Regions from separate parts of the Homo sapiens genome. Here regions 2, 3 and 4 are each linked to region 1. Evidence: promoter capture Hi-C in 16 types of primary human blood cells and fetal thymus (Javierre and others, 2016). All regions are on one chromosome and are shown on one strand. The core of a region is centred on a gene start or on the middle of the fragment in contact, and the rest is flanking DNA. Distances in the headings are between cores, read along the strand shown. Region 1 holds the start of LINC00842 (long intergenic non-protein coding RNA 842). Region 2 has its middle 73 kb from the start of OR13A1. Region 3 has its middle 4.6 kb from the start of FAM25C. Region 4 holds the start of LOC105378283 (a long non-coding RNA gene).

Evidence for each region. The method cuts DNA at HindIII sites, captures the fragments that hold promoters and counts their contacts. A CHiCAGO score of 5 or more calls a contact.
Region 2: a fragment that was not itself captured here is called in contact with the fragment with the promoter of LINC00842 in region 1 in 2 of 17 cell types (fetal thymus and naive CD8 T cells); the score reaches 7.3 in fetal thymus.
Region 3: a fragment that was not itself captured here is called in contact with the fragment with the promoter of LINC00842 in region 1 in 8 of 17 cell types (activated CD4 T cells, M1 macrophages, M2 macrophages and 5 more); the score reaches 11.1 in activated CD4 T cells.
Region 4: a contact is called between a fragment that was not itself captured here and the fragment with the promoter of LINC00842 in region 1, in 4 of 17 cell types (activated CD4 T cells, total CD4 T cells, total B cells and 1 more). The highest score is 6.0, in activated CD4 T cells.

What each region holds. Positions count from the first base shown.
Region 1 is chr10:46,393,864-46,400,293 of GRCh38, reverse strand. LINC00842 (long intergenic non-protein coding RNA 842) reads right to left here and starts at 1,932. Exons shown (of 4, transcript NR_033957.2): 1 at 1,501-1,932. RefSeq lists an enhancer at 3,057-3,672. The HindIII fragment of the contact is 4,014 bases long and covers 1-3,173 here.
Region 2 is chr10:45,239,435-45,245,596 of GRCh38, reverse strand. It overlaps the pseudogene CUBNP2. Among named protein-coding and RNA genes, the nearest start is that of OR13A1, 73 kb to the left of the region's middle. The HindIII fragment of the contact is 863 bases long and covers 3,962-4,824 here.
Region 3 is chr10:48,001,503-48,007,298 of GRCh38, reverse strand. No RefSeq gene overlaps it. Among named protein-coding and RNA genes, the nearest start is that of FAM25C, 4.6 kb to the right of the region's middle. The HindIII fragment of the contact is 8,536 bases long and covers 1-5,796 here.
Region 4 is chr10:45,222,347-45,228,903 of GRCh38, reverse strand. LOC105378283 (a long non-coding RNA gene) reads left to right here and starts at 4,394. Exons shown (of 6, transcript XR_001747443.2): 1 at 4,394-4,585. The HindIII fragment of the contact is 3,272 bases long and covers 3,471-6,557 here.

The sequences.
Region 1 (6,430 bases), core at 683-3,182:
TTTTCAAATAATCATAGATTGACAAGAATTTGTGAAGGGGTCCCAATATCCTTCACCCAGTTTCTCCACTGTTTACGTTTTACATTCTACAAAACAATATCAAAACAAAGAAACTGACATTAGCACAATGTGTGTTCTTCTATTACATTGTATCACATGTGTAGATTCCTGTAACCACCAAGACACAAAACTATCCCATCATCCCAAGATCTCTCCTGCTACCTCTTTGTAGTCACACTTCCCCACCACCGCCTCTAACGCCTGCCAACCACTAATCTGTTTTCACTGTTTATAATTTTGCCCCTGGAAGAATGTTATACAAGTGAAATCGTACAGTATGTGACTTTTTGAGATTGGTTTTTTTCACTTAGCCTAATGCTCTTGAGATCCATCCATTTAGTTATTTGCATGAATAATGTTTCTTTTTATTGCTGAATATTGGCATAGATGTGTCACTTAGTTTAAGCATTCACTTAGTGAGGGACATTTTGGTTCTTTTCTAGTTTCTGGCTATGATAGGAAGACACAGGAGAAAATCATCTGGACCTAGGAGTTGAGGATGAGTTCATAGGCATGGCACCCAAGTACGATTCATTAAAGAAAGAATTGATAAATTGGACTTCATCAAAATTAAAAACTTTGCCTCTGCAAAATATTCTGTTAAGATGATGAAAGGACAAGCTATGGAGGGGAGAAAATATTTGCAAACTGCATATCTGACAAAGGACTCACATTTACAATGCATAAAGAGCTCTCAAAACTCAACAGTAAAAAAAAAAATCTGATAAGAAATTGGGCAATAGACATGAAGAGACATTTCATGGCCGAGTCAAATCAGCATGTGGAAATATATTTAACATCATTAGCCTTTGGGGAAATGCAAATTGAGATCATGAGAAATCACTGCACACTTATTTGAGCAGTTGAAATAAAAATATAATGATAAAACCAAATGCTAGCAAGGATGCAGAGAAACCAAATTTCTCATCCCTTGCTTGTGAGAATATAACATGATACACACAGCCACTCCCAAAAATAGATTGACAGTTTCTCAAAAAACATGCACTTACCATATTACTCAACAATCACATTCCTGGGCTTTTATCAGAGAAATTATAATTTAAGTTTGCACAAAAAGCTACACACAAATGCTCATAACTGCTCTATTCGTCATGTTTTTATTGGCAGGTAATTTACATACAAAGAAATTCAAAAATCTTAAATTTCACAATTCAATGTGTTTTGTCAAATGCCTGCACTCCTGTCCCTCCCCCACTGTAAGATTTACAACACTCTAGCACCCCCAAAAAGTTATTTCATGCCCCCTTCAGCTAACCTCTACCATGCCACTCCATCCATAAACCCCAAAGCAACTATTAAAAAAAAAAAAAAAAGGCAAAAACCGCAATTACTTTTGCACCAACCTAATACTAGTCTGATTTTTAAATCACAGATTCATTTTCATATAAATGGAATCATACAATGTTTATTCTTTCATACCTGACTTCTTTCATTCAGGAACACGATTCAGAGCTTCTGCTGTGCAGTAGGGGACATCAATAGTTCATTTTCTTTTTATTGTCTGCTAACATTCCATTGTATGGATTCAACCTAGTCTGTTTATTCATTCTTCTTACTGATGAAGTTTTTTTCTCACGGCTTAAGTCCAAGGTGTGTCTTTTTCGTCCAGCCAGGTGGCCCCGGCAGGTCGCTCCTCAGGGACCCACATGGGTCAGGGCGGTGCAGCAGTGACCCACAGGGGCCAGTGCAGTTGAAGTGGCTTTGAAACCTGATTGGAGAAACAGACTGCTCAGCTGTTAAGAACACACAGCGCTCCAGAAAACTGGTGTTCAACACAACGCGTCACTCCGGCTTCCACTGCTGCTGCGGAGAGTCAGGTTCTCCGGCAAGGCCCCGCGCGCCCGCCCCCGCGCGCCCGCTTCTCTGTCCAGGGAACGCCTTTCTGCGGGCGGAGGCGGCTACGAGGGGGCGCTGCGAAAGCGGATTTCCAGGCACGCCTGGCGCCACTAAGCGGCGCTGAGACGGCGCTGCCTCCTGACTGCCGGTTGGAGGCTACAGGGGCTCTGGGGCAAGGGCCGCTTTTAGGAGTTTGCTGGTCACGAGGGGGGACGCGACCTCGTCCAAGATCTGTCTGCAAGGGACCCTTCCCAGCCGATGTGAACACAGCCCGGGGAAAGGGGTCTTCCGGGGAGCAAAGGCAGCCCGGGAAGAGGAGTAGGGGCTGAAACCAAAGGCAGCCTGGGTACCCAGGTTTTCCCAGGGGACAAGTCCCCCAGTTAGCTGGGCACAGGGAGGCATGGAGAGCGGCAGCAACTGCGTTGGGATGGGGCGGCTGCCCCAGGTTGGGGCGGTGACCCATGTTCCACCAGGCCAGGCGCAGGGCTGAGGTGGCTGACTCCTGTTTCACAAGTGAAGACCTGGTCACCCCAGCAGCAAGGCATTCCGGAGTGGGAGAATTCCTGAGTCCTGGGGAGGAAGCCGTGGTTACAGGGCTGTGGCCCTGAGCAGGAGCTGGCTGGCCCAGCAGGGTGGGCCGAGCACTTCAGTCAAGGCTGAGCGCCAGGCACCAGGGACTCAGGTCTGAGAGACCTGATGTACATCCTGCTCCAGAGCAGATCACAGAGATGCGCCCGCATGAATCCCCAGGCTAAGCCCAGAATTCCGTGGAAGATGCCCATGGGCCAGGAACACGGGTAGTCACCGCGCTAGGGCATCACACAGGGCCCCCCTTGGCCAAATACCACGAGGGAACTTAGACACCTGCATGGGGCCATGGAAGTGCCTGCAACCTCACACTCAGGCCTAGGGCTTACCGAGGTATTGCAGATATTTGTGTTCTCAGAGTAGGAGCTTAGGAATCAGTATCTTCTCTTCGCTACAGGGACAGAGATGCAGTGGCCTAGGACACATCACAAATATTTAAAACGATGTCCTTGGTCAAGGACAGAGGTAGCCAAGGCCAGCCTTCTCCCAGGAAACTAACCCAGGACCCCAAAGCACAGAGCTGTTAGGTGGGAGGGAATTGGTCTGTATGTCTCCCTATAGTGTTGCAACACTTCGGCGCTGGGCTCCCTGTCCCAGACTCACCTTCTATACTCAAGCCAGAGGCCTACGAAAGCCGGGTTAAGATCTTCCCCTGCCTGTCCCTGTAAAGCTTCCCCACTGTCTCTGGAAATCATTTGAGCTTCTTAGCCCCACAGCATGAGCCCGCTCTGACTCAGGCCCTGACAAGCTCTTTCTCTTCTGTCTCTCCCTCCTCTGTTGATATGGACACACCATTCCTTTGGCATGTCTAGTACAGACCAGATCCCCTGCTGTTGTTAGCATTCCTCCCTCTCCCTGGAATGTTCTTCCTTATCTGTCTACCTGATAAGCACTGAGTCATCCTGCAAAACTCTGCACAGCTTTCACCTTCCCTGAGGAGCCTCCCCTGGCCAGCCCCACCCTGTTGCAGGCAGAATGCTTGGCGGTGGGTTGCTGACCACAAATCCATTCCCCCTTTATTCCTTGCCAAGGGAATGCTGATTTTGCTCAGGTTGTCAACCCTCAGGGAGGTGACCCTAAACATGCCAAGTCCAACACACTAGCTCTACCCCCTGAGAGCATGAGAACAACACGGATGGGCATGTGCCCGGATCTGGCTTTGCCCTCATGGACTGCAGGTCAGGGGTGGGAAGCTCTTATAGAGCAGCCCCAGGAGCCCTAGGGGCCATCCTGCTGGCCATGCCATGGCAGTGTCAGAACCCCAAACAGCACCTGGGGTGAAGGAGCTACTGAAAGAGTGGAGAGACTCCACTTTGTCCTGTTAGATCTGTCTCAGAAGTATTTTTATTAGGATTGACTGGGTAAGCTTTCTTCCACAGGGAGCCTAAGGGGGCCCAGAGATTCTTCTCAGAATTGGAGGCCATCAAGGATTGGCTCAGGCTCGCTGGCTACTAGGCTCTCCTGTTCCCAAAGTCCATACTCTTGTTTGTTGTTATTCAAAAATATTTGTTGAAAGCCTGCTATCTACTAGGCCCTGAATGTTTAAAAACAAATAAAGTTCCTGCCTTCAAGGGGCTCACAGCTTTTCTGAGAGGACACGTAAACAGATAAAATGTCATTAGGGTGTAGTTCTGTGTAATAGAGGGTGTTCTTAGGTGCTGACAAGAGCATCTACTCTGTAGTTTAAGCAGAAAACAAATGTATGAAAGGCTATTGGACGGCTCACAGAATTCTGTGCGGCACGAACACTGTGTCTCAAATCATGCTGCAGGACAAACTTGGGGCTCAGTATGCTGGACCATGTTGTGCCTTCTCTCCCAGCCAGTGCTGCAATGGAAGAAAAGGAATTCAGCTCCTAGGAAATGCAAAACATTGATCTGAGGATAGAGAAGGAGTATATGTAGATATCATCTCTTGGAGGGAATTAAAAAGCAACGATGATAGAGCTATGGCAAGGCTACAGGTAGGGAATACCTATGGCAAAGAAAAACCAGAGCTAGACGATAAAGTAGTAAAACCAGATTTTATTCAGGACTATTGCAATAAGCGAAAAGAGACCTCAATATACAGTCAGGCTGATTCTAAAAACAGCATGAGAAGTTGAGACTTGGAGCCATGGAGCAGGTAGGAGTTGAAAGATGGAAAATTACCAAGAGGAAATGCCAGGGGTGAGGGTGATGCTGGCTAAACTGACCTAACAGGAGACCTGCTGAAGAAAGGCCAGGGTGACCAGACATCACCTGGGAAGGTGGAGGATGAGGACCCTGATCGGATATTGGGAGTGGTCAGATAGGAACAAGGGGAGTTCTTGCTGAATTGACTTAGTGGGATTCTTGCTCAAATTGAATTTTACAAGAAAGTACACAGATGAGCCTAGAAGGTTCAGGAGCCTGACTCAAGTTTGCTCAAGCAAAGAAACTTTGTCACTATTCCCTTATTTTTCCCCTATGCTGAAATTAAACTGGGCAGACTCCAAATTATCTTTAAAAACATAGGTGTGTTTTTAACAAATTCCAAAGAGCAATTGCAAAAGCACCTGTGGAGCGTGTCTGCTTTACCAGAAGTGCCCAAAAGGTTACTCCAGCAAAAATGATTAGCAGGTGCTGTGGATGCTGCTGGTGTCCTGGCCAGGGCCCCTTTGCTTCCTTCCCCAGGTGCCATGGGGGTCACCTGGTGGGAGTCAGCACATGGGGCCGTGACCCCTTACACCCATGCTGCTCCAGCTCTGACCCCAGGCAGAGAGAGCTTCCCCTCTAATCTGAGGAGACCTCTTGCTTCCAGGCCTGTCCCACATTTCTCTGCTGGCAGGGAGGCAGTGGGGGTGATGTCCATTCTGCCCCATCAGGGGAGATGATCAACTTCATGACTCTGCTTAAGCAGATCCCCTTGCTGGGCATGTACTTGGACTTGACCAAATTTCCTTGGCTGCAGCTCTTCTCAAGGCTCCTGTTTGGCCACATGAGGCCTGTTTTGGGGTGGGCTGCAAAAGAACCCATCGAACCAGTGGTCAGGGGAGCTTGCAGGGCAGAGAGATCCTCTAAGTCCTTCCTTCCTTCCTTCCTTCCTTTCTTTCTTCTTTCTTTTTTCTTTTTTTTTTGACAGAGTCTCGCTCTGTCACCCAGGCTGGAGTGCAGTGGCACTATCTCTGCTCACTGCAATCTCTGCCTCCCGGGTTCACGCCATTCTCCTGCCTCAGCCTCCCGAGTAAGCTGGGACTACAGGGGCCCACCACCATGCCCAGCTAATTTTTTTGTATTTTTTAGTAGAGACAGGGTTTCACCGTGTTAGCCAGGATGGCCTCGATCTCCTGACCTCGTGATCTGCCCGCCTCGTTCTCCCAAAGTGCTGGGATTACAGACTGAGCCACCACGCCTGGCCCCTCTAAGTCCTTTCTAAAGAGCTTTGGCAGAAAGCAGCTAGGCAATGGCTCAGAACTGAAAGCAAGTCTGCACACAAAGCAGGACTTGAACTGAAAGAAAAGGAATAAGAATTCTCACCCAGGGCTGGGATCCAAGAGACGCACACTGATACAACTACTAAAAGGTTGTTAAACTCCCGAAGGGCCCCTGCCTTGCTGTGTTACAGTCTGATTGTGTATTGTTGAAGCCCTTACCCCCAGTTTGCTGGTGTTTGGAGATGAGCCTTTGGAAGCTAATTAGGATTAGATGAGGTTATGAGGGCGGGGCCCTCATGATGGTATAGTGATCTTATGAAAAGAGCAGGAGAGAGAGAGAGCTCTTCCCCCCGTGACCAGGTGTAAGCACAGAGGAAAGGTCATGGGAGGACGTGTCAAAAAGGCAGCCGTCCGCAAGCCAGGAAGAGGCCCTCCCCAGGAACTGAATTGATCTTAGACTTCCCAGCCTCCAGAACTGTGCAAAATAAGTGTCTGTTATTTAAGCCACCTATTTATGGTATTTTGTATGTC
Region 2 (6,162 bases), core at 3,144-5,643, 1.2 Mb after region 1:
CAGAGCCAGACTCCATCTCAAAAAAAAAAAAAGAAAGAAAGAAAGAAAGCCATTTTGAGCTTTACAAAATGCTGAGTCTGAATTTCCTCTGGAATAAGATGTTGAGGAGACAGTTGGACACAAAGTGGGATGTTGACCTAAGGCCCAGAGATTTTTGTGCATCATCATTATCATGATAAGTAATTGAAATAATGAGAAGAATAAGATTATCCAGGGAAAAATATGTAAAGGGAGAGGCCGTGAACTGAGGATGGATACCAGGGAGAACATTTGAGAATACCTGGATTCTCTTTCTGCAGTCGGGGGAGCAACTAACCCTCCCCAGTTCATTCCAAGAATGTCATGTTCAAGCCCCATGTGCTGGAATAGTAGAGTCCCATTTGTTGTCTTCTGAGTTTTCAGGGTCCTCTTCATTATAAATCTGGGGTCCCCTGCTTCTCACCTGGTCTTGCTGGGGAGAGAAAAGTCCCGTTTGTCTGACTCCAATGTGGAGAGGTGTGAGAGGTGCTGGCAGCTGAATAGGCCCTGGACTTGCTCAGTTTTGTGCAAAGCTTAGATGCTGAGATGAGCTCCCAAGCTCTCAAGATGGACAAGATGCTAGACTATCATCATTCTGTTGGTAATGGTTTTCAGGACAAAATCCCTATTACCCAGTGGTACCCTTACTGGAAGGACTTAGAGCCAAGTGGAACAAGGTCCTTTGGGTGAAGCCTTTTCCCCCTGCTTCATGAAGCTAAGACAATGAGGATCATGGTGGACCACTCAGCGTGCCACTTACAGAACACTAGGCACCAGCTGGAACATAATAGCAGCTGGAGTGGCTGTGAGTAAGACCCAGTGTTTGTCATGACTGAATAATGTTTTCAACTGAATGAATACAGGAAACAATCAAGGGTTTCAGACTGGGTAGGTAGGGAGGAAAGACAAACATTGACGGATGAGCTGGGAGAAACTGGGATTCTCAGGGTATCCAAGAATAGACAGAGAAGGTCTAATTGGAAGATCATGAAGGAATGATGTGTAGGGCTGTTATAGAGGATGTACAGTAGCTACCTGGCATTGGGAATGAACGGAGACACAGAGATGGAAGTCACTGGTGTTAAGAAATATAAAGTGAGGGTGTTTAATGGCTTGTCTGTATAAACACTGAAACCTCTAAGGGTTCAGAAAGGAAATTGGGGGCAGGAGATTACTATGAGCTGAGACACCTCAAGTCTTTCATAAATGCTGGGAAGTAACCAGGAGAAAAGTAAGTGAGAGTGATGACAATGGTGAGAATATATTTGACCAGACGTAGAGACCCTCAAAGGTGAACCAGCTTTGAGGCAAGGATGGAAGCTGCAGTGAGGAACGTGGAGCATCCCTCCCTTCCTCCTAGGCTGACCCCCCACCCTTCCTACTCAATAAACTGTGGAGCATGGGAAAAGAGTGGCCTCTACCAGGAGGCTGGTGGAGAAACAGGTTTTGCTAAGGCTACAAAGTGGAAAGGCGGGGGATGTATATAGAGAATGATTGACCGTGCAGTTAAAGTTCACAGGATACAGCAAAGTTAGACAAGGACCAAGAGCAGGAGACGGTTGGGAGGAGGAGTGGAAGTCCTGAGCAGTAAGAGGAGTTTGCAAGCAGAGGTGGGTTGGGTCTTTCAGTAGGTTCCTAAGGACTGCAGATATTAGAGACATACTTGTGACAGGGAGGCTGCAAATACCCTGACTTTGGTACAACTTGTTTTTATGCAAGAACTGATGGGCATTCAACTGCATTTACTCCAGGCTTTTGAGAGGTAATGAGGGCTGCCCAAGTGTTACAAAGGGGAACCAGCACCTCATTACAGGCCCTGGCTGGCTTGGGGATGTACAGTGGAACCAAAGGCTCTGATTAGATTTGCTAAGGGGTAGCAAGGGCTGGATCAGGGCAATGATGGTTGTTAGTCTCATGGAGCTCAGGACTGGCAAAAGCCCCAGGAGGAGAAATCCAGTGAACTCTCAAACAGCCCAGTGGTGCTCAGAGCAATGGCACAGGCCTCGACTAGGAAGTCACATCAGAGGGGAGGGGTCTTGTTTTCAGCAGGGAAGTGTCTGTGGTTTCAGCAGAAACTTTGCCTCCCCTCCTCCCTCCCCTCTGGGAAGGTGCGACTTGTATCAGTTCCAAGGCCAAAGTGAGTCTTCTTGCAGAGCACTTCCAACAACAGAGCTAGTTTCCATGGTTAAATATTTAAGCCATACTTTTATAGGCAGTTTAATTTCTGTTATGCTGTTCTCTTCTAAAATAAATCTAACATGACTTGGCTTCCATTTCATTTCAGAGTCATGGAAATTCAAGAATTCAGTTCTGTGGCAGAAATGCTTTGGCTATGCCGGTGTTTTATTCTTCTATGAGTACTGCAATTGTCATTTTCAAATCTGGAGTTTTAAACAGAAATTCTAGAATGAATTTCACCTATCAGATAGCAGGTGAGCCCCAGAACTTCATCTTTTATTAAGAAAAGCTGCCATCATTACAATTATTCCTAGAATAATTACAATTATTTCTAGAATTGACTCCCGTTAGTAAATTAAGATTTGTTAACAAAAACCACACCCATCTCTTAACTAGAACCCAGGCCCAATTTAGCAAATTACTAAAGTTGGTTTCTAAAGAGGTAAAGAGAATACAATACTAACCAAGATGCTTAGAATGCTAGCATTTTCTTCAACGTCTATGTAGTTGATTTTAAAAATATACCAGTTATTTTGTTAATTTACGCACTTAACCACACTGAATATACATATTTATTTATGAGAAATATATATATATTTACAAGAGCTTTATCAAAATATAATCCTCATGTCATACAATTTACCCATTTAATGTTTATATTTCAGAGGTTTTTAGTATTTTCACAAGGTTGAAAATCTTAGAAAATTATTTTTGTAAAAATCAAAAAGCCTTAAAAGAGTTACCTGATTACTATCACTGAGAAGTTTATTTTCACAGAACACTTTATTTGATATTTATTTTGAATTGATTCAAATGAAAGCTGCCTTTGGTTAAACAAACAAAAGTACTTTAGATTTTTTTTACAAAAAAAAAGGTAAAGAACGATTTCCCACAAATAACTCACAAATGGATTTAAAATCCTTGCGCAAAACTCTGTCTTGGAGGTAGTGTCCTTGTCTAAAAGAGAGTCTGAATGCTAGCCACTTCACCTCAATGTGATCAGAAAAGTTCAAAGGATCCTCGAGTATTCGTCTTTAAAGGAGAAGGCTCCTGTGTCATGCTTCCTGTAGGGGTGTTTGTGTGAATGAGCTGCTGCATTGCATGTGTGTGTGCTGCTTGAAATTCACTTCACTGCTCAGGGTCTCAATTATCTCAAAGGTAAACGAAGAAGCTGGATTACCTTTTTCTAAAGTTTGTTCACATATAATGATCTTTTTGAATTATTCCTGCGAAGTTGAAAGAGCACTGAACGCTGGAATGCATACATTAATTATGCATATTTTTCTCCTAAGATTGCAACAGAGACTATCACAAGGCATTTGGCAACCTGAGGAGTACTGGATGGCCAGATAACTACGACAGTGACATGGATTGCACCATTACTCTCACAGCCCCCCACAACCACACCCTCTTTTTTCATTTGTTTGGCATTGAGAACTCAATTGAATGCAGAAACGATTTCTTGGAGGTAATATGCATTTGAATATCATTTAAATGATGATGGATTTTACACCTTTTCTTTAGTGCTTCTAATGCTCTATGATTCTTACTTGTTTCATTAATTTATTCATTACCCTTTCATTCCCTAAACATTTACAGAGCACCAGTCCAAACACCGGAAATTGGGAACCTCAGGGCCCTCGGAAGACTCCTAGTCTGGTGGAAAGGACAGATGGGGTATAGCCAATTACAGCACAATGTGGAAAGGACTAACTGAGTCCAGCAGGGGTAGGGGTTCCTAACTCAGTCTGGGAACTAGAAAGCTTCTTTAAGAGGGCAATATGTAAGTTGAGACCTAAAAGGATCAGAGGAAAGTCTAAGAACAACAAGCTGATTCTGTAAAATGAAACTGAATGATACTAAATAGCTCACCTAATTTCCCTGACAGCTACAGTAAGTTTGGGGCATCGTCAACATCCTCTAAAGACAAGTGTTGCCTTGAAAAAGTGCTCCCTTGTTGCAGGAAGTGTGGTCTGTCCTTTTTCCACCACAACTCCAGAGCTCTCATTTGGACACAGAAGTGACTTTGCTGTTTGCCCATTCTCCACCCATTCACCCCCAACTCCCACCCCAGGACACACTGAGAGAGAAGCCCCCCTTGCACCTGGAGCAGGCAGAGCCATGCCCCTTGTGGGCCTGAACCTTTGGGGTCTTCCAGAGCCCCTGGTGAGCTCCCTCTGTGCTCTTTCTGCCACATCACCTGCATTGAGCATGTGAGATGGAACATGAATATCATTGCTCATAGGCAGGAAACGGTCTGAATAAGACTCATCTGATGCGGACCCAGTGTGTGGAACTCAGCACCTGTGTTTTGCCAGAAAACCCCCCAGAGCTCATGCGGTTGTGACCTTTGCAAGCTCTGTTGAAAATGCATTCATCCTTAGGAAATAAACTCAGGTGGAACCTGAGACTCAAAAGGATAAGGATGCTGAATTCCTCTGAGAGTGGAATTTAAATCTAAACCTCATCCCGATGCTCTCTAAACTGGCTTTGTTTCACCATACAAGAGGCTTCAGTAAGGTTTCCAAAAAGTTTGCTTGTTCCTCTACACCTGATCTGGAGTCGTATTTTTTGTTTTATTTTTTTTTCTCACTGCCTCTTTGATCAGGTCTTCATTCAAAATAAGCTTCCCAAGATGATTTGATCTTTGTAGCATAAACAAATGTACTGGTGTATGCAGCAGGCTTCTTTCCTTCTGTGGGAGGATTCTTTCCAGTGGGCTTCTGTTCAGCTGCTAGTTTCTTGGTAGCTGCAGCCTTTGTTCCCAACAAAACATCTTTTCTCACCTGCAACCCACCTCATCTGATTTGGCTTCTAGGGCTGCTGTCACCTTCTGCCCGGCCTGGTGAGGAAGGGTGTTCTGGCACATGGTCTTTGCCTATGGGTTTAGCTTCAACATGATTCTTGATGCAGTTTTATCATCCTGGAAAGCTCTCCCCTTTGGAATTCATCTAAATCCTTTATTAATCAATAGCCTTAACATGTAGTTTCATAAATAACACTCAGAGGAAGCTCATGCCTTTTCTAAAGGAATATTCCCATGACAGGAAACCAAAAGATGTATGTAGCAGGGAGGAAACGAAGAGACAAATACAGTATTCTTTGTGCCGGTCAGGTTACTCAACTTGGACCTACGTACCTCCCCCACCACGGAGATCCATATATTTATATGAAGTGTAAAGCAGAAAGAATGAGGAGAGTGGGATCTGGATGAAAGATGGAATAATCCCGTTAGGTTGGAGTCACAGTGCAACTAACTCTTAACTCACTCCAGCTTGAATGGACCATTATTGATCAGAGTCAACATTTGCCATTTGCCTGATAGATGCTGGGAAGCAAAGCCTTGCTTTCCAGCCATGGACAGTAAGAACTCTTCCTCCTCGCTGTCCTTCATTACTCCGTAGAATGGATCTGAAACTTCCTGTCCCATAAGCAAAGAAAGGAAACCACAGCTTAGGCCTGTAAAATGTAGCTCCGTCTGGCTCTCGGTGGGAAGACTGTGGGCATAGTTTATTGGCAGCTGGACCAGGAAGCCTCAGCATTCCATTCTTGTGAACTGCCGTAGGAACAGAAATGTCTGACTGAGGATTCTGTGTTACTACCAAGTGAGGGCCGAGCTCTAGACCATGCCTGGAATCTGCGATTGTTTTCATGCCTTCACCTCCCCTTCCAGGATCCTCTGATGTCGCAGGGATGCCCGCTGCTCTCGGTGGCCCCATTCCTCCTAGGAGACGAAAGTGAATAAGACAAGTTGTTGGCAGTGTCCGTGAAAATTAGTATCTCACTGCTCCTCTCAGAGCAACGCCATTTTAAAAGAGGACCCCTGGGTGAAAACACCCAAACTCAAGGGTATGGTGCTGGAAGGTCTTAAATATGGCAGCCCTCCTATCTACTAGTGGATAACTGGCTACTCTGTCATGGCAAGTCTACTTTATTTAAACACTTAGCAGAATAATCCCTGAAGCA
Region 3 (5,796 bases), core at 1,677-4,176, 1.6 Mb before region 1:
CTAATCTGCCATATTCTGATTAATCCCAGTTCCAAGACTTCATCTATGATTTCTATTTTATCTTTTTAAAAAATATATTTTTTATTTTTTGAGACCGAGTCTCACTCTGTCTCCCAGGTTGGACTGCAGTGGCACAATCTCAGCTCACTGCAAACTTCACCTCCTGGGCTCAAGCGATTCTCCTGCCTCAGCTTCCCGAGTAACTGGGATTACAGGCGCCTGCCACCACGCCTGGCTAATTTTTGTATTTTTAGTAGAGACGAGGTTTTACCGTGTTGGCCAGGCTGGTCTGGAACTCCTGACCTCAGGTGATCCGCCCACCTTGGCCTCCCAAAGAGCTGGGATTGCAGGCGTGAGCCACCGTGTCTGGCCATACACATCCCTGCTGAAGCCCGCATTACCCTTCCCCTATGCTATAGAAGCCCTGGGTCGGGGGGGTGGGGGTGATGGCACAGGGATCCACCATCTTATCTTGGTGCCATCCCTGACTTGCCTTCTGTTCATAAACGCCTATTAAATGTTTCTTTCTGAGAAACTGGATTTGTCAGCCTCTTTCTTTGGTATCTCAGGTTCCTTGGCCTTTGCGGGTAGGTTTATATAGACCTGCTCAGCACAGGACAGGCAGTTTCTCAAAAAATTGAAAATAGAATTACCAAATGATCCGGCAATATCACTTCTGGGTATATAGCCAAAATAATTGAAAGCAAGGTCTCATAGAAATATTTGTACACTGATATTTATAGCAGTGGTATTCACACTCGTCAAAAGATGGATGCAGCCGAATTGTCCATAGGCAGATGAATTGATAAAATGTGGTATATACATACAATAAAATATTCTTCAGCCTTAAAAAGGAAGGAAATTCTAACACATGCTACAACATGGATGAACATTGAGGACATTATGCTAAGTGAAATAAGCCAGTTAGAAAAAGACAAATACTGTGTTCCTTCACTTATGTGAAGCGTCCAGACTGAGTAAGCAAACTAATAGAAACAGAAGGTAGAACGGGGGTTGCCAGGGACATGGGGAAGGGAGAAAATGGGAAGTTGCTTAGTGGATATAGAGTTTTGGTTTTGTCAGATGAGAAAGTTCCGGAGATTGGTTGCATGGCAATGTGAATATACTCTACATTACCCAACCCAAGGGCTCTCCTTGACCCCTGTTCCAACTGCCACTTAGAAGTGGTTAAGGTAGTAAATTTTATGTATATTTTACCACAATTCAAAATAGAATTATTATTTTTTTATTATAATTTTTTGAGATCCCTCACTCTGCTGCCCAGGCTGGAGTGCAATGGCGCCGTCTCAGCTCACTGCAACCTCTGCCTTCTGGGTTCAAGTGATTCTCCTGCCTCAGCCTCCCAAGTAGCTGGAACTTACAGGCACATGCCACCATGCCCAACTAATTTTTGTATGTTTAGTAGAGACGGGGTTTCACCATGTTCGCCAGGCTGGTCTTGAACTCCTGACTTCAGGTGATCCGCCTGCCTTGGCCTCCCAAAGTGCTGGGATTACAGGTGTGAGCCACCATGCCCGGCTGTCAAAATAGGTGTTTTGTTGTTTTTTTTTTTTTTTGAGATGGAGGTTTGCTTTTGTTGGCCAGGCTGGAGTGCAATGGCAGGATCTCGGCTCACAGCAACCTCCACCTCCCGTGTTCAAGCAATTCTACTGCCTCAGCCTCCTGAGTAGCTGGGATTACAGGCATGCACCACCATGCCCAGCTAATTTTGTATTTTATTTTAGTATAGATGGGGTTTCTCCATGTTGGTCAGGCTGGTCTCCAACTCCTGACCTCAGGTGATCCACCCACCTTGGCCTCCCAAAGTGCTGGGATTACAGGTGTGAGCCATTGCGCCTGGCCTTTTTTTTTTTTTTTTTTTTTTTTTTTTTTTTTTTTTGTGATGGACTTTTGCTCTTGTTATCCAGGCTGGAGTGCAATGGCACGATCTCAGCTCACTGCAGCCTCTCCTCCCGGGTTCAAGCAATTCTCTTTCCTCAGCCTCCTGAGTAGCTGGGATTACAGGCATGCACCACCATGCCTGGCTAATTTTGTATTTTTAGTAGGTATGGGGTTTCTCCATGTTGATCAAGCTGGTTTTGAACTCCTGACCTCAGGTGATCCACCCACCTCGGCTTCCCAAAGTGCTAGGATTACAGGCGTGAGCCACTGTGCCTGGCCTGAAAAAAAATTTTAAAGTTTGAGAAAATACAAAATTTTCATAGTCTCCAAGTATTTCTCCTAAGATCTTTCCCCCTATGAGGGGGAAAGATAGTAACTTTACAATGGAGAAACCCAGCAGAAACCTGAACCAAATGAACAAGTTCAACATCATCAGTAAGAAGAACTATCAATGCCATAACTCTGATGGAATGCACTGGGAAGGATTCCACATCATTTTTGTGCTGTAATTGCCAAAAGTTCGTAACTTCAGTCCAATCATGGAAATACATCAGACAATCCCAAATCGAGGAACATTTCACAAATACTGATCAGTACTGGTTCAAGATGTCACGGTTATGAAAGATAAGGAAAGATTGAGGAACTGTTATTGCAGTCCTACAAAATGGCGAGAGACTAAGAAATAACTAAATGCAGCGTGATCCTGGGTGGAATTTGGGAACAGAAAAAGGACATTAGTGGAAAAAGTGGTGAAACTCCAATAAGGTCTTTTGTTTAGCGAATATGTTCATTTTAAATCAGTTAAATTATTTAAATATATTTAAACATTAGTTAAATGTATTTAATTAAATTAATAAAATTGGTTATTTTGTGAAATAATTTTAATATAGTTAAATATGAGAATGTGGATTTCCTGGTTCTGATCACCGTACTGTGGCTATCTAAGAGGTGCATGTTCAGGGAGGCTGGGGGAGGAATAAATGGACATTATACTATTAAGTTGGAAGAGAGAAACCTACCCCATCAGTCACAAAACCCTCACATTCATGGCAGTGTGTTGGACGTTCCAGTATGAATGGCATTTCCCAGATGTCAGCGCGAGGTCCCTGTGGAGGGAGTGGGGCTCCCTGGGAATCTAGTGGAGAGCATTCGGGGCTCCCTTCCTCAGGAGCCTGACCTTCCTGCACAGAAGCGTCAGCCTCACCTCTGTACCACTGCCCCTCTGCCTCTCAGAACCCACTCGCCTTCAGGAAGATTCTACTGCCAGCCTCCTTTCCCAGATACAGCCTCCAGGGACTCAGCCCTGCCTTCCCAAGTGTTCCCGCCTCTCTTGGGAAGGGGTGCTCTCAGATCCCACACCCCTGGACTTCCCCGGGCACCACCTGCTCCTTCTTCACTTCTCCAGCTCTGCGTTCTCACTCTGAGGGTCCTCTCCTGCTGGGAATGTGTGTTGCTGGCAATAGTGAAGATTCCCCCCTGGGTTGCCCCCCATGCCCTGTTCTTCTGCACTTCCCTGGCTTCCTGCGTTGGTTCTGCTGGTGTCTCCTGCTTTTGGGTTTACGTGGCTTCCCAGCTTCCTAATTTCTCTGAAGTTGAGTTTGATGTGTGTATTGATGATGGGCTTTTTCCTCCTCCTCCTCCTCCTCCTCCTCCTCTTCCTCCTCAGTCTTGTTGTTGCCCCATATAGTTTCCAGAAGGAGAAAAGGGACACTGTAAAATTAAGCTGCTGCAGGCTGGGCACAGTGGCTCATGCCTGTAATCCCAGCCCTTTGGGAGGCCGAGGCAGGTGGATCACCTGAGGTCAGGAGTTCAAGACCAGCCTGTTCAACATGGTGAAACCTCATCTGTACCAAAAATACAAAAATTAGCAAGGCATGGTGGCATGTGCCGGTAATCCCAGCTACTCGGGAGGCTGAGGCAGGAGGATCTCTTGAACGTGGGAGGCAGAAGTTGCAGTGAGCCGAGATCATGCTACTGCACTTCAGCCTGGGTAACAAGAGCAAAACTCCATCTCAAAATAATAATAAATAATAATAATAATAATAATAATGCCATGTTTCTATCAGACCCAGAAATCCCGCAGAGTGAGCTGGAATTCTCTGTTTCTCTGTTTCCCCTCCATACCCACTGGCTCCTCTCTGCCCACTCCCTCTTGGACTGCATCACCAGGGTGCCTCACTGTCTGGCCCTAGTGGAATTCACACAGTGGAGGACGTCATAGGAGGTGGGAGAGAGAGAGAGAGGAGAGGTGGTTATTCGCTCAGATTCTTCCTTGCTGGTTTGGCAGTGGCCACATCTTTCTACTGATGGCTGCAGCTCCTGATGATCCTCCTCTACAGCCACAGCTCTCTTTGGGATCTGTGGACACCTTTCCTGTCCCTTTAGACCCAGGGAGATAACAGCTCCCACTCTTGCTGGTCCAGGACATTCCTCATCTCTTATTGGTTCCCTTAACTCGGTCCACACTTCTGTGAACAGCCCCTTTCCTCAAATACCCATTCGAATATGTCCTCTGGCTTCCACCAGGAGCCTGACTGATACCCACAGGTGGGTGAATGCTGGCGTGCTGCTGGGCCCCTCTTCCTCTGGTGACTGGCCAGCCAAGTCTCCAGGAGTCTCGTTAGGGTGGGCAGGCGGTGGGCACAGCACAAACTGTGAGCTCAAATCCACAGAACAAAAGTGGGAGAAGACACTGGCAGGATGGACCGCCACAAAACTCTTGGCATTCGTGACGTCTGTCCTTTAAATCACGCAAGGCATCATCATGCTTCAGACATGAGACAGCCTAAGTATTTAAGTGTTTCAAATAAACAAATTGTTTTTCAGAATTGGTAATTGCTAAGTTGGCAAATTGCTATTGGAAACGTTGGCTGTCCTTGACTCAATGATTCAGCCAGCTAGTCCCTTGCCAAACTAGTATGTTGGGCAAATTCCACCTTGAGAATTTATCTGCTCCTGTCAAAGCCAGATTCTCCCTGCCTGAGGGGAGGCTGGACTTGACCTTCTGACTCAGGATATGCTGACTTGGGTCCCTAGGTCCAAGGGCGGCCCTCTTGGGCCCACTGTGGGCTGGACCTCTTCCATGATGGGGTGGTGGAGGGCAGGCCCCACCTGATTCACACTTGACCTCATCCAGGCAGGTGAAGTTCCCTGCAGGAGTCACCTGAGCCCAGCCCCTCAGACCAGGATCCATCATGTTTAGGAGGATTTGGGGCTATCTCATGTTCTTTGGCTAGAAAGGGGTCCCACTCTTAGGGGTCTGCCCTCTGTGGGGCACAGATGGCTTGCTGGGGCCCATGGACGGGGCTGGGTGAATGGGAATCTGGTCACAGCAGCAGCAGCTGGAAGGCCAAGAGGGAGGGCACCAGGGCCTGGGACCCATGTCTTGTCCTGGGCCTCCCCGGGCCTCTTGCCTTCTCCCCAGCAGGCATTTGGGATCTGTGTCTGGACCCAGCCTCGCCCAGAAGGCCATGGTGTGTTGTCATTAGAATCACAGTGCTCACACCAAGGCAGTGCATTAAATTAGCAGGGCAGGGTCTCATGGGCAAGGGACCATGTGGAGGGGGTGGGGGGAAGGGCAGTTGTCCCCAGAGGCCGTGGTGGGCCTGGCTCTGGGCTGGGCAGTGGGCCAGGGTCCTGCTGTGTGGATGAGCTCTGACAACAGGCTGTCTGGGTCTGGTGAGCTCCTGAAAGCGCGGACTGGTGGAGAGTACCCTAGGGTGGGAGCTCATGAGGAGGGGGTCTGTGGGGTCTGGAAGCCATTCTAGAGCAGGCAGATGACATTTATCAGGGGAGCAGGCATAGAAAGGACCCTTGTGCGAGTGGGGGGACACACAGCCTCAGAAGAAACAGGGAAGGGGCTTTGACAGGTCCAGGGAGAATCCCTGAGGTTTC
Region 4 (6,557 bases), core at 3,857-6,356, 1.2 Mb after region 1:
CTCCCACCAGGCCCACCTCCAACATTGGGTATTACAACTCAACATGAGATTTGGGCGGGGATAAATATCCAAACTATATTATATATTTACTCTCAAGAGTACAAAGTTTCCATAAGCAGCACCACTGCCTATTCCTTAACACAATATATTAAGTTATAAATAAACAATATAGTTTGCCATTTAACAACAAGTAGAAAGTTCAATAGCACATCCTTATCTCCAGTGCTGCCAGACATGTAACTTAGTGAGGTAGTTATCAGCTTCCTTTTTATAAGAACATCCAATGCTTTTATAAAGTTTTTCACTGCCTCTAGAAAAGCAGAAGCCTTTACAAAGGAAATTTGCTTTATGTTAATTATGCAAAATCAAGGGTTATTAAGAACATGAGACCAAGTGAATGAAAGAAGCTGTGGAATATATTACTTCATCTTACTCTAATACTCAAATTTCAGAGAAATTATTCCTGGACAGAGTATGGAGGTACATAAAGAAAATACTCTCACCTTAAAAATTCAGCTACTTGGGAGGCTGAGGCAGGAGAATCGCTTGAACTCAGGGAGGTGGAGGTTTCAGTGAGCCAACACCACGCCACTGCACTCCAGCCTGGGTGACAGAGTGAGACTCCATCTCAAGAAAACAAACAACAAAAAAAATTCCTGCTCCCTTTTTGTATTATGGATAGATATATCAACTTTATGGATGACATTTCTATTGGAAAGGACAGCAAATGCAATGAGTAACACCATCAAATCCAAAGGGTCTTGATAAGCTAGAAAAATGGGCCAATAGTAACAGATGAAATGTGATAGATATAAAATCTTCCTCTTTTATCTAATAAATGAATTGCAAAGGTACAGAATACAGGGAAAGTTTAATAATAACATGAAATGACACAGTACTTTTCTGAAAGCAAGATTAACATGATGTAGCTGTCAAAAAAATGATGCTTGGATCATGGATTGCATCATTAGAGTAATGGTATCATTTCCACTCAGAAGGGCATGCTTTTCTAGGAGGCATATTGGAATATCTGGGAGGGGTGTACATGAAATTGAGGAAAGCATAATCAATATTATTATGTAATTTTAAAATTAAAAATACAGAAAAAAGAGACAAAATGAAGCTTTACAAAATCTTCCAGGCTAACCATCTAGGAAATAAACAGTGATTTTTTAGTGGGTTAGGGGATTGACAGGCTTGGAAGCATGACATTTTCATGTACAGCAAAGGGAAGTAGTTATTGAGCAATTCAGTTTTTGAGTAATTCAGCTGGAAGAAGGAGAAAAGAGTCGACTCTACTCTCATTAGTAAGACCCATCATATATCCTCTGGTTTTGCTTTACATTTAATTCACTCATTTCCAAATGTTTATTGAGCATCAGCTATGTGACATATACTAAGTGCACTGAGGATAAAGCAGAGAACAGACAGCCATACAAGACTATCAGCTGATTTCTCCCAACTTCACAAAGCACACTTCCCAGGTCCATCTTGCTTGATTTCCTGAGCCAGTCCCAAGGCAAAAACCTTAATATTCTTATCTGGTGAAACACACATTGAGTCAACTTCCCAGATCTAGTGGCCAAGGGATGTTTCCTGATTCCACGTTGTGTCACCATGAAGTCTCACTGCTAGCAATCAGGACCCTGGACAGGCTAACCATCACCCTAGCAAATTAATCAAACCCGAGAAGGGGGTGTGGGAATACTGATTTATAGGTGGTCAGAAGTATAGGTGACAGTCAACCTAAAGTAGGGGACAGTCTTGTGGAAATGCACCCTTAACTTGTGGGATTTGACTGTAAGTTGAGGTAGTATCAGAATTAAGTTAAACTGTAGGACACTTAGCTGGTGTCTGCTGGAGAACTGTTTCATGTGTGGGGGAATCTCTGGTGTCAGAAGTGTTGAGCGTGTAAGAGTAGCAAAAACAGTTTGGTTTTTACTATCTCAAACAGGAGTGAAAACAAATTCCTGTGAAGCAGGAGTGAATGGAGGCATGCAGCCCAAAATAACTTTGAGAGAGAAATGCAGGAGGTTTGGGACTCTCTGTTCCAGGTGTTATCTGGATGTGGGGCTGGCAGGTGCAGTGTGAGGAGCTAAAACCAAAGTCATGGAGTTGCCTTAACTGGCACTGACAATCCATCATTTCCCTCCACCAGCAAAGGTAGCCTGGTGATGACCTGCAGGCATAACACTGGGTTCTTGCCTCTAAAGAAATTCAACAATCAGCCCAAGGATCTAGGAGGAAAACAATACACACAAACGAGAGGAAAGAAACCACTCCAGCTATCTAGAAAAACCATTTCAGATCTTCACACTTGAACTCAAAAGGACAACAAAGAATAAACCACCAGAGAGGGGAAGAATTTTTCTTTTCTAGGGGAAAGACTAGATAAACACACATAAGAATGGAGCCTTGAAGAAACATAATTTAGTGAACAGAAGAGAGGTTTAAAAACTATTATCCTCAGTGATACTTGAGAAGAGAGTACATTTATGAAACAAAAACAGGGTGTTATTATAGAGAAACAAGAGTGGGGCTGTCCAATAGGACTGGTGTCCTTATAACAGGAAGAGACACCAAGGGTGTGATTGCACAGAGAAAAATACCCTGGAAGGACACCAAGAGAAGACAGTCATCCACAAGCCAAGGGGAGAGTCCACAGGATAAATCAAATCTGCTGGCACCTTGATCTTGAACTTCCAGAACTGTGAGAAATTTCTGTCGTTTAAGCCATCCGGTCTGTGGTATATTGTAACGACAGCACTAGCCGATTAATACAGGTACTACTGTCTTCAGCCTACACAGTCAAGATTCACTATTAGAAACTGATGGAACAAGAACAATTCTAATTTTTTCAAGAAAGTTCTTTTGCTTTAGAAGAGTTAGTGATTCAAGAAATAAATGTATTAGGAGATTACCAACTAATACATACAGATGAAATTATGAAGTTAGAAAATCATCAGTGGATGCTAAAACTACTAGGTAAAAATTAGATGAGAAAAGGGACGTAATCCAATAGCACCTCCCCCCAGCATTATTTTTAATCATAAAGAAAAAATAGTAACTTTATGGTGAAGAAACCTCGCAGACACCACCTTAACCAAGTGAACATCATCAATACTGGGAGAAACCGATGTTATCTCTACCTTGATAACATGCACTGGAAAAGACACATCACTTAGTGGTGTTTCTCCAAAAATTCATAACCTGAAAGGGAACATCAGACAAACTCACTTTAAAGGATATTCCACACAATACCTGGTCTGTACTCTTAAATAACGTCATTTCAATAAATATAAAAGCCAAGGAACGGTTCCAGATCAAAGAAGACTAATGCAGGAATAACCCTTTCATCTGGAATGTTTTTTAAGCAATAAGTTTCTGCTTTCGAATTTAAGAGTGCAGATCCTTTTTTAATCCAATTGGTTCAGGGCTAGAATTACATTATTTTACATCTCCTTAAAGCTTTGATCCCCGCTACAATCTACAATATATAAATGCATGTGTGGTATCCGTCTATCATCAATTTAGGTGACAATAGGAGAAAAGTGCCTGGTGCCAATCTTTATTCCATAGTATGAAATTGTCTCTCAGGACAGGGTTTTTGGTGAGAGAAGCACAGGATATTGCTGGGTAACAGACTGGGTCAGGAAAGAGGGAGGCAGAGGGCAGCAGTTTTGCTAGAATTTAAAATTTGGTTGCTTTTGGAAGAGAAAGCGGGAGGTTCCTGGGAGCCAGAATGTTATGTTTCACAGATGTAAAAGTCATAGTCGGGAAAGACATCGCTTTAGTGGTGTTTTCAAATGACCTTTAAATGGTAGGGTTTTACTTGTAGCTTCCAGCCCTGAGGGTGGTTCTTGTTGCTTAAGGGCAAAAGGGTCAGGGGTAAAAGCCAGCCTTAGAAACCTGTCAAAAAAGATTTCCAGCGGGGCGCTGGAGAAACGTAGACCACGCCAGAATTCCTGTCTGGAGAAGCTCTTCATAGGGCGAGAGGCTGCGTGCCCCACAAGGTCCTTCAGAGGCACATTGTGGGACTCAGGGTAGCAACTTCTGGCGAGTGGAGCCGCAGTTACAGAAGCGAAACATTCGAAGGCAATTTACTTCCAGCTTTCGCAACACCCACCCTCAGCCATTACCCTCCCTTGCGCAGTCGCGCCATAAACTTCTCTGCTTTCCCCCACAGCCCTCTGGGCTTCGACCCATCAACTGAACACGCGCCAAACATCGCGCGCACGCGCCAAGCTCGGCCCAATCAGAGTTCCAAACCGCGGAGTGTTCGCCACGGCGATAAATTAACCTCAGCGTGGCGCGGGGTCTCGAAGCCGAATAACGTACGTGATTGGCCAGCCTCTTCCATATTCTTTTAAGGGCGGAACCTGGCCCTGGAGCCACGCCTAGCGAGCTGTTCTCTTAATATGGGTAGGTTCGGGCGTGGAGCTGGCAGCTGCGCGGTGTGCCGAGACAGGGCGTGTTAGTTATTTAGTGCAGGTGTAGCAGGGAACGAGGGCATCTGTCGCAGCCGGAGTGCGTCCTGCCGAAGCCTGTGGTTGCACGCCCACCCTCTTAGGGGCTGCCCTCTGCGGTGAGTGTGTGCGGCGTCGCACTTGGGGTTGCTTCTCTCTGCGTGGCCGGACCGGGGCTGGACCCTTCCCAGTCCCCTGCCCTGCCCCATCCCCTCCCTGCACCCGGACGCCCTTCAGGCTGACGTGGCTTTGGTTTAAACCCTCTCCACACTTTTCCAGGTTGTCCGTTACCGACTGTAATGCTCCAGGTTTCTAGGCGTGATGCACAAGGCCTTTCCGAATCTGAACACTACCTTACCCTTCCATGCAGTTGGCATTTCAGCCATTCTGAATTTATTGTCCTTTCTGGACCGGAGCCTACTTGTTCAGATCTTGGTGCTTTTACGAATTCTGTTTTCTCTCACCCTCAGTCTTTTTCACCTGAAATCGTTTTACTTCTAAGAGTCAGCTTAGACATCACCACCTGTGTAAAATCTTCTCTGTCTGCACCAAGCTAACATAGCCACTCCCTGCCCTGTGAAGTTGGACGTGTGCCTTGTTTTGTGACTTCTGTCACGTAGGATTGTAATGATTTTTTTTTTTTTTAATCTAGAAGTCTCCCTTCTCCACTGGGACATTGGGAAGACAAAAGCAGTGCAATGTTCATGCTTGCATTTTTTTTTTTTATAATAGTGCCTGGAGCACAGTAGATGCTCAAAAATAGTTTGAGGAATGAAAAAAAATGAAAGAATGATGGATTAGGCCCATGAGTGTGTGAGATCACGTCCAGGATGTGACGAGAGAAGAAGGGAGATGTTCAGGAGACCCTGAAAGGTGATGGAAAGCCATTGAGACATGGAAAGAATGGCAGAGTCAGGTTTACTGTGAAGCCATGCTTTTCCCGGTTTGAAAACCTGCCTGGGATAGAGATTGGAGTTGATGCCATTAATACGTCTTGGCAGAAGGAAAAGGGAGGAAATGTAGTTGATTTGCGTTTCATAGCCTTTATGAAAATACGTGCCATTAAACTTAGGTTGTGTACTAGTTAGCTTCTCAGCCTTGGTGTGTGTTGGTCTCTTGCATTCCGTAAGGGTCCTCGCTGTCAGCAACAGAACAGATGCCTCTGGAACTGAAGATCTAGGTGTGTCCCTTGCTGCCCCTGCCCAGCTCTGCCATGATCATGGTCATTATTGGGAGCACTGTTGATACAGAGGAGAAAGAGAAGGGGATAGGGAAGATGATGCCTGGCATAGCGGGACCCTTGGCCCCCATGGCTTTCCTCCCTCCAGCACTCGTTCTCACTGGGTAGAAGAGAGAGGCTGCTTTCAGCAGAGGAGCTTTATACCCTTCAGCTTTTGAAGAGGAGACTTTATGTGATATTTATAAATGGGGAGAATGGCTTAGCTATTTCGGTTGAGCTCTATTATCTCTTTGAAGCCATTGCTTTTATTAGGGAAGAAAAGATAGCCACTTGCTTCCTGAAGTAAATTTCAGTATTGGGTACTGAAAAGCAAGATCATTCTTAAATTTTCCTAAAGAAGAAGCTAATGAAGAATAATAGTGCTTTTTGGGAAGCTGGGTGGAAGTGAATTTGGAGATGTCAAGAGTCCACTTCCTCTGGCTTCTGTAACATTGACCCAAGGCTGCTCTCTGCAAACTCCCTGACCTCGGGACTCCTCGGAGCCTACGGGGTTCCAGGATGCTCTTCGGAGCCTCCACTAGGGCTCAGTTCTCAGCAGTGCACACACAGTGACACAGTGCTTAATATATACAAGTATTAAAATATTTCACTTGGCTACATTAATTATAAGTGTAATTTTTTTTTTTTCCTGAAAACAGGGTCTCGCTCTGTCACCCTGGCTGGAATGCAATGGTGCATTCACAGCTCACTGTGGCCTCAACCTCCCAGGCTCAAGTGATCCTCCCACCTCAGCCTCCTGAGTAGCTGGGACTGTAGGTACACACCACCACGCCTGGCTAATGGTTTTATTTTTTTGTAGAGATGGGGTCTTGCTATGCTGCCCAGGCTAGGCCTCAAACTCCTGGGCTCAA